Regions from separate parts of the Homo sapiens genome. Here region 1 is linked to region 2. Evidence: promoter capture Hi-C in human tissues and cell types (Jung and others, 2019). All regions are on one chromosome and are shown on one strand. The core of a region is centred on a gene start or on the middle of the fragment in contact, and the rest is flanking DNA. Distances in the headings are between cores, read along the strand shown.

Evidence for each region. Contacts are between HindIII fragments. The study calls those that stand out against the background at their distance.
Region 1: a fragment that was not itself captured here is called in contact with the fragment with the promoter of TMEM132A in region 2 in 2 of the 25 tissues and cell types used here (H1 embryonic stem cells and spleen).

What each region holds. Positions count from the first base shown.
Region 1 is chr11:61,199,687-61,204,226 of GRCh38, reverse strand. It overlaps PGA3 (pepsinogen A3), which reads right to left and starts at 712. Exons shown (of 9, transcript NM_001079807.4): 1 at 607-712; 2 at 1-120. The coding sequence starts at 662. LOC124902678 (a long non-coding RNA gene) reads right to left here. Exons shown (of 4, transcript XR_007062691.1): 4 at 3,357-4,540. The HindIII fragment of the contact is 5,848 bases long and covers 1-4,540 here.
Region 2 is chr11:60,923,040-60,927,525 of GRCh38, reverse strand. It overlaps TMEM132A (transmembrane protein 132A), which reads right to left and starts at 3,066. Exons shown (of 11, transcript NM_178031.3): 1 at 2,793-3,066; 2 at 108-322. The coding sequence starts at 2,892. It overlaps TMEM109 (transmembrane protein 109), which reads right to left. Exons shown (of 4, transcript NM_024092.3): 4 at 4,083-4,486. LOC124902676 (a long non-coding RNA gene) reads left to right here and starts at 2,129. Exons shown (of 2, transcript XR_007062688.1): 1 at 2,129-2,307. RefSeq lists silencers at 2,421-2,490, 2,531-2,750, 2,811-3,170. The HindIII fragment of the contact is 5,282 bases long and covers 1-4,431 here.

The DNA.
Region 1 (4,540 bases), core at 464-2,963, 280 kb before region 2:
GCCTTCCACTGGGGGAAGTACTTTCTGGCTGGGTTGAGGTTGTGCTTCTTCAGGAAGTCCTTCAGCAGGCCACGCTCGGACAGGGTGCGCCTCAAGGACTTCTTTCTGATGAGGGGGACCCTGTGGTTTGGAGAAGGAAGAGGAATTAGGCAAGGATTCTGCTGACCGGGTGCTGTGGCAGCCCCAGAAGGGAAGGGAAGCTGGTCTAAGAGAGGAAGAAGGAAGGAAAGGAGACGCCCCCTCTTCTGCCCAACAATGCAAAGAAGTTAAGTTGACTAGTGCTGGAGCTGGGAGCCAAACCCAGGCTGGACTCTTAACCAGCTGATCTAAGAGAGGAAGATGGAAGGAAGGGAGAAGCTCCCACTTCTGCCCCATAATGCAAAGAAGTTAAGCTGACTAGGGCTGGAGCTGGGAACCACAGTCAGGCTGGGCCCGAGTTTTAACCATGTCTGCAGGGCTGCCTCCCAAAAAGGCAGAGAGAGAGGCGGAAAAGGGGGATGGAGACAGCTGAATAGAGAGGGAGAAAAAAGGGAAGAAGGAAGACACGGGAGGAAAGAAAGGTGATGTGGGAGGCAGCGTCTTCACACCCACACCACCCGGACTCACTTGTACATGATGCACTCAGAGAGTGCCACCAGACCCAGCAGCAGCAGCCACTTCATGGTTCTTCCCGGGTCCCAACTCGAGGGAGAAGGCAAGACGGGAGGAAGGTGCAGAGCAGCAGCATGAGCTGCCCCTTATATACAAGTTGGGTCCCGCCTTATCGGCCTCTGAAAGTCACCGGTTCCCCTGATCCCAAACAGAGAAGCTCCTGATAAGATTGTGGCTGCCCTAAGCCACATTCTGAGATCTTTCCAGCTGAGGCACTTTCCACTATAACTTTGCACCATGGGGAGGGGGGAGGGTGCCATGGGGATGGACCCGCAGAGAGAGAGAGGAGCAATGACCGGGAGGCTTTTTTCTTTCTTTTTTCTTTTCTTTTTTTTTCTTTCTTTTTCTTTCTAAGCAATGACCTGGAAGCTTATTTGTTTTCTTTTCCTTTGTTTCCTTTCTTTTCTTTCCTTTCTTTCCTTCTTTCTCTTTCTCTCTTTCCTTCCTTCCTTCCCTCCTTCCTTCCTTTCCTTTCTTTCCTTACTTTCCTGACGGAGTTTTGCTCTGTCGCGCCGCCAGAGGCTTATTTCTGAAGCATTGACAAGGGCCTACGTTAAAACTTTACCAGCTGAGCATTTTGACAAAGTTGGTTAAAAGTGCGTTTAACACAGCATTGGAGAGATGTGAAGGAGCCCCAGGTGGCCTGATTTGTCCCAGAGGGCATGCAGCTGGGGTTCTTAGAGAGCAGCCCCCGACTCAGTCATAGGTGGTACTGGTTGTGGTCACTGCTTATTCACAGCACATTGGGGGGTCAGTCGTTTGGGTCTCAGGACACAATTCCCCACATAAGTGTCATTGTGTGGGGTTGTTGGGCGTCTGACTAGCCTATGGGCCTTGTGGCTTGCTTTTGGTGCAACTGGGCTGAGTCTGGGAAGGAGATGTGCACAGTACACGGGGGAGGAGGGAGACAGCACCGGGAGAATGCTGCCTTCCCTTCCTGGAGGAGGCAAACTTCAGACAGGCCAGGTATGTCTTTGGAATCTGTGTCCCTCCCTTTCTGCACCCCTTCTCTTTCTTTTGCTCCTTTCCCACCCTCTCCACCTTTGAGATCCCACCTGGGTCTGATTTCTCCAGGTGCTCCAGGCTTACAACTGGGTTGAAATCAGCTACAATGGAGTGAAGCAATCTGGGCAAACAATTCATACTCATGGGTGAGTGACTTAGAAAGAGGATGCTTGGCCGGGCGCCGTGGCTCACGCTTGTAATCCCAGTACTTTGGGAGGGTGAGGCAGGTGAATCACCTGAGGTTAGGAGTTCAAGACCAGCCTGGCCAACATAGTGAAACCCCGTCTCTACTAAAAGTAGAAAAGTTAGCTGGGCATGGTGGTGGGCGCCTGTAATCCCAGCTACTGGGGAGGCTGAGGCAGGAGAATCGCTTGAACCTGGGAGGCAGAGGTTGTGAGAGGTGAAGCCCTCTGGGCTTCTGAGTCGGGTGGGGACTTGGAGAACTTTTGTGTTTAGCTAAAGGATTGTAAATTCACCAATCAGCACTCTGTGTCTAGCCAAAGGTTTGTAAACACACCAGTCAGCACTCTGTGTCTAGCTAATGGGGTGGGGACTTGGAGAACTTTTGTGTCTGGCTAAAGGATTGTAAATGCACCAAGCAGCACTGTGTCTAGCTGAAGGCTTGTAAATGCACCAATCAGCATTCTGTGTCTAGAGAATCAGGTGGGGAATTGGAGAACTTTTGTGTGTAGCTAAAGGATTGTAAATGCACCAATCAGTTCTCTGTAAAATGGACCAATCAGCAGGATGTGTGTGGCGCCAAATAAGGGACTAAAAGCAAGCCACTGGAGCCAACAGTGGCAACCTGCTCGGGACATCTTCCAGGCTGTGGAAGCTTTGTTCTTTCGCTCTTCACAATAAATCTTGCTGCTACTCACTCCTTGGGTCTGCACTACTGTTATGAGCTGTAACACTCACCGCGAAGGTCTGCAGTTTCATTCCGGAAGCCAGCGAGATCACGAACCCACCGGGAGGAATAAACAACTCTGGACGCGCCACCTTTAAGAGCTGTTACACTCACCGCGAAGGTCTGCAGCTTCACTCCTGAAGCCAGCGAGACCACAAACCAACTGGGAGAAACTCTGGACACATCTGAACATCTGAAGGAACAAACTCCAGACACACCATCTTGAAGAACTGTAACACTCACCGTGAGGGTCGGCGGCTTCATTCTTGAAGTCAGCGAGACCAAGAACCCACCGGGAAGGAACCAATTTGGGACACAGTTGCAATAATCCGTGATCGCGCCACTGCACTCCAGCCTGGGCAACAGAGCTAGACTCCATCTCAAACAAACAAACAAACAAACAAAAAAAAAAAAAAGAAAAAAGAAAGAGGATGCTTACCAACCCAATGGATTGTGAGATTTTATTCAGTGGACAAAGTAGAGTGAAAACCCTGATGCATAAATTGCTGGGGAGGAGGACAGGGGAGCGGGGAGGTCACCAGGTAGATAGGAAGCCCTGTCTCAGGGTCTTGTTCTGAAATCGGATCCCCTGGGGCATCCTCAGACTGTCCAGCCATGAGAGCCACAGGTTCTATAAAAGCTCCAAGTTGCCCCCAGTGCCTCCAGGTGAGTATTGAGGAGTGGGCAGTGTGGATTAGTTCAGGGACAGTGGTGGTTGGTAGAAAACACATTGACATTACAGACTCCCCTGTTAGTTGACATCTTTGTGCCCCAAATGTGAATCCTGGGCCCATTTTCTTTTGTTTTCTTTTCTTTTTTTTTAACTGTGAATCTCACTCCAGTATGACTAGCCCTTGTATTTTCCACGTTCATGTCTTCTGGTGCCTCCTTCTCTTCCTCTTTCTTTCCTCCCTCTCAAGCCTCTCTCTCTGTTTTATGAGACAGGGTCTTATTCTGTCACTCAGGGTAGAGCGTAGTGGGGTGATCATGGCTTACTGCAGCCTCAGCCTCCCACGCTCAATTAGTCCTCTGGCCTCAGGCTCTGAGTAGCTGGGATGAAAGGCATGAGCCACTACACCGAGCTAACTTTTGTATTTTCTGTAGAGACAGGGCTTCACTATGTGGCCCAGGCTGGTTTCGAACTCCTGGGCTCAAGCGATCTTCCTGCCTCAGCTTCTCAAAGTGCTGGGATTACAGTGAACCACACTGCACCTGGCCCTCTCTCTCTTTATGGATACATAATATTTTACATATTTTTTTTGGGTACATGTGATATTCTGTTACAGGCATAGAAAGAGTAATGATGAAGTCAGGGTATTTGGAGTATCCATCACCTAAGTATGGGTTGATCCTAGCACTCATGTGAAGAACCTGATGGTCCTGAAGATGCTGCCTAAGTTCTGGGGGCACCAGATGGAATCCCCTCACTCAAGGCTGCCACCAGATGGAAGGGAGGGAGCTTGGAGCCCAAGGATGGGCACTGATTTTGGGGGCACAGTTTGTCTGGGGCCCACATGGGAATTTTGAGCAGAGAAGTATATTTGGGAAGCAGAAGGAAGATTCCCCAGGCAGAAACCTGCAAGCCCCTTTACACATTCATTCAAATGCCTTATTGTGCACTTGCTGTGTACCGTGCAGGGATGCTCTAGCTGCAGAGGGTACATCCCTGAGCATGGTAGGACTAGGCCGTGCCTTTGGCGCATTTGTGGTCAGTTGAAGGGAAAGCTGGTGTGGAAGGGGCTCTTCCTTTCCACCTGGATGGATATTTGGATCACATTGAGGGGAAGCTCTCAGATTGGTGAAGATGATAATGTTTCTCCACATTAGAGATTTTAGCACCCTGAGGGACGCTGGCATGCTTGCTGACACCAATTCAGGGGTATGGCAGAGAGACTGTAGGATGGCCCCCAATTATTCATGCTGCTGGTGTTCACATCCCTGCGTAATCCCCTCCCCTTTTGTGTAGGCAGGACTTGC
Region 2 (4,486 bases), core at 1,817-4,316:
GAATATGGGGAGCACAGCCGGGGCTGGGGAAGGCTCCCAATTTGTACCCAGCAGACCTCAGGCCCTGAGTCCTGTTAGCCTGAGAGTCCCCGGTGCCCCCTCCTTACCTGCTGAGTGGCAAAAGGTGGGTAGGAGGCCCGGAGAAGTGGCTGGGCCCTGGGCCAGGGCTGTAGGAGCAGAAAGGTCTCAGATCGGGAGCTCAGAGAGGAGTTGGCAGGTGGGTAGTGGCCCACCTGCTGCACACGGAAGTGTTCAGGGGCGTCTAGGAGCTCCAGGGCTGCCGGCAGGTAGACAGGGTCCAGGGGAGCCTGGCCACAGTCCACTGAAGAGGCATAAGAGGGAGAGATGATGACAGCTCCAGAGCTGGCAGGGGCTGACCCGGGTGCCATGCTGGGGCACAGTAGTTGTGGGCAAGGGAGGGAGAAAAGGGCTGTAAATGTCCCTTCCCCTCTCACCACCATTTCACAGATGAGGTCACTGAGGCTTAAAGAGCCTCACACAGGTAGTATGTAGCAAAGCCAGGATTCGAATCTGAGTCCAGGACTGGATGCTTCCCAGCTATTCCTTCTACTTTCCACAGACCTTGGCCTTCTTCTCGCCAACAGCCTTCTCAATGTCTCCTTTTCCCCAACTCCTGCCCTCCATCTACTCGCCTCTGATACCAAGGCACTTCTGGGGTGCAACCGTCGGCAGACTGGGCCAGTGTAGTAAAATATGGTAATGAAGTGAGCTTTCTCTGCCCTGAATCCTTGGCCAGGCTCTGCTGGGCATCCACCCCTCCTCCCCCATCATTGCCATGGCAACCTGCACCATCTTTCCAAGCTTGCTCCCTTCTTCCCTGAACCGACTGGTATCGAGTGCAAGTGTGGGATGGGCGGGCGCGGAAGGTGCTGAAGAGGTCTGTGAAGGCACTTGCTTGCCCTGGGGGTGGGGTGGGGACCAGGAGCCTGGGGAAGACAGTCAAAATAGTCAATCATCAGAAGGACAAAGGAGCACTAAGCCATATTGGTTTGCTCTAACTATGAGCACTAATAATAATAATTAGCATTTTGTGAATGCTATATGCAGGTGAGAATTTAAATACTGTATGTATATGAACTCTTTGAGTCTTTGTAATAATTCTGTGAACCAGGTTCTATTATGATGAATCCCATTTTGTGGATGTAGAAAATGAGGCCGAGAGGTTAAGGTATTTGCCTGTGGTTCCACAGCTGGAGAGTGAAGGAGCTGGGGGTTGATCCCAGGTATTAGCCACTAGACCATCCGGCGTCTCCACCTGCCACTTCTCTCTCCACTCTCCACTGCCACGGTGCACCCTGCAGGCTTCATGCCCTGGAGCGCACCTCCTCTCCTCTGCTCTGCCCGGTGGCACCTCCCTCCTCATTCAGGGCCATGAGTGAATACTGCCTCCTTCTGAAGGAAGCCCTCCTTGGTTACTCACCTTCCCACCAGTCTCCTGTCTTTTGCAACCCTGGGTGCCTCCTCTGAATTAGTAATCTTCCTATAAACAAGGGACCCTGTCTTGCTCATCCTGGAATTCCCCCAAACTAGGAAGCGCTCCCTAGAGAGGATTTCCTGGGAGCCTGGAGACCTGAATTTAAATTGATGAAACTTGGGTCAGGCATTAACATTTTGAAGCCTGTTTCCTCACTTGTAAAAGGGGCAGGAGCATTAGGTGGCACTGTGGACAGGACAGGGCTGTGTAAACTGTGGAGTGCTGTCTGGAGGGAGCAGGCATTATTGCTGCTGCATAATGGATTTGACAAGGTTTTCCTCCTCTCTCTATTAGGACTCCCATGGCGTCCCTCGGGATGGGGAGCAGGTGGCTGAAAGCAACCCCACAGCTAGCTCCCTCTCAGCCCCACAGCTGGACTGTGGGTGGGGGTGGGGGAATTGGTTTCAACCTCCTTCCTGGCCCTCCCCACCAAGGAGCATATGACTGACAGGCTCTCCCTGCCCCCTGCCCCAAGCGTAACAAGTGACCACTGCTCTCTGGGGGCAGCCACTGGCTTCAGGTTCGCCTCCTACTCCATTGCCTCCATAATTACAAGATGCTCTTAGCCTGACTCCCACGGACTCCCATCACCCAGCGCTCGGCTCTCTCGGTGGGGAGGGCAGAGAATGTTTCACTGTCCCTCTGTCTTCTGTGGCATCCTTTGCCTTGCAGCCACAGCCCAGCTAGCCCAGGCCAAGGGAGTCCGACCCCCACCCCGAAGCACAGGGAAGTTGCTGCCCTTTCCCGCAGTGACAGGAATCCTCTCAAAGGTTCTGGAAGGCAAGGATGCGGCCATCCCTGGAGACGCCAAGGTCAGGGAGCCCTGGGGGAAGGGGGAGGGAGGGCTTGCGTCTGTTGCAGGTCCCAGGCAAAGGGGCTGCTTTCCACTCCCGAGGGGGGTGGGTTGGTGGCGGCGGAAGGAGGCTAGGAGGGTGCAGCGCTACAGACCACAGTGAGGGAGTGGGGATGACGCTAGTGCGCCCGGGACCGGGGCCGCCGGGTTCGATGCCCGGGCTGAGGGGTCCCTCGCAGAAGGTGCGGGACGGGGAAGCCCCTGCGCCGGGCTGCCCCGGGTCAGGAAGGAGTTGCCGGGTCGTGCAAGGTGAAGGAAGCCTTAGGGGCGAGTGGCTGGGGGCAGGTTCCCGAGGGCAAGAACTCTCCGACCTTCAGGGCGCTGCGGGGCGACCCCGCTCAGGGTTCAGTCCGAGAACCCAAAGGTTGGTGGCTCCCGGGCATCACTCGCTCCCACTCGGCCGGGCCCGGCCGCCCCTCGCCCCGGCCCTCCCCTCCCGCTGACCTCTCACGACGTCCAGGGCGAGGGCCACCAGGAGGCAGAGCCAGGGGCCGTAGGGCCCCCGAGGGGCCGCTGTTGTGCGACCGGCCATCCGCGCGCACATCCTTCCCACAGAAGGCGGGGACGAGGCGGGCGGCTCAGGTGGCCCCAGTCCCGCACGGCATCTCCCGCACCCGCTCCGCGCCGTCCCCACCTGGCCCGCTGGGTCCCGGCCGCCGCCGCCGCCGCCGCCGCCCGCCCCGCGGCTGCAATTCCCAGACAATGGAGCGGGAGCAGTGGGGTGGGAGGGAGCGAATCGCAGCACATGGGCTGCCCCCTCCGCCCCGCCGGGTCCTAGTGCCCTACGGATCCCCAATCCCTGCGCGCTCAGGCGACCGAGGTCGGGAAGAGGGCCACGTCCCTGGAAGCAACAGAGGACGGCCGCCTCTGCCAGGAGGGACTCGGTGAGTTCTGTGTGGCTCCCTCACGGAAGCTTCTGATCAGGGAAGAAAAAGCCACTTTCTCTGCCTCACCCACCCCCACAAGCAGCTCACTTGTGAAGGCATCTGACACCTGAGTCAGAACCAGAATTCAGGGACACATGGGACGGGAGCTGCAGGGACAGGAAAGGAGGGAGGGGGTCAAACGGGGCCAGATGCCAACCACCTGAGCCTGCCCTGACAGAGCTAGGCCACCGCCGTGGAGGAAGGGCTCTAGGTGCAGGCAGCTCTAGTCTCTTGACCAGCTCCACCTGGGCAGCGTCCTGCAGCGCTTAGGAGGGTTGAGGGTTGCCCAACACTCCCGAGGGAAGGCCAGCCTCAAGGGTCCTGACCCAGTGTTGCCTACCAGGCAGTTTGGGGAGAGGCCCAGAGCAGGGGCCCCAGCTGCACACTCTCATGCCCTGGGCAGCTTACAAAGAAAAAATTATGTCTGAGGCCCTCCGCAAAATTGGTCCAGCCTGTGGGCCGACTGGAAACCTTGGCACAGGAAAGTCCTCAGGTGGGTGGTGAAGGGGAGGGCAGGCAAGTCTTCTCCAGGCTGCCCACCCACCTCAGCACACTGCAGGGAAGGGGTGACCCCTCTGCCCAGCAAGCACACGCATTTCCAGCAGTGCCAGTCGTTCCTACGTTTTGTAATGGGGGCATGCTTTCCTAATTCCTTGTGCTCCTGGAGGGAAGGGTACCTGGTACCAGCCTGCCTTTTCAGCTCTCCCCTCTGCCAGCTTCACACTGCCCCCACAGGGAGAAATTGGGAGGCGGAGCTGCACTACAGAAATGGGTTTAGCAGTAGAGGAGACATGGAAGCAATCCAGACTTGGAGTAAATACATTTTATTCAGAACAAGATAATAAAATAGCGTGCACTTTATTTAAAACCAACCAAGCACTGATAAAAAATATATATCACTGCAGCTGTGATTCCACATCAAACCTGAACAGTAAGAATTGGGCATTTATTCTTCACATCATGTGCCAAGCCTGGCAGAGAAGGACATCCACCTCCACTAGAGCCTCAAAGGAAAAGTGGCCCCTAACCACCAAGACAGGGTACCCTGGTGGAGAGGGGCAGCTGGCAGCTCACCCTGCTCTCTGCAGACCACGTGAAGGGAAAGGAGCTGCCTGTGTTCCTCCCGGGCTGCCGGGGTGGGCACTGGTCAGCAACTCCTTCTCGGTTTCAGGTTGTGGAGCGATGGGGAGAGAAGTGCATGCAGTTGTGCAG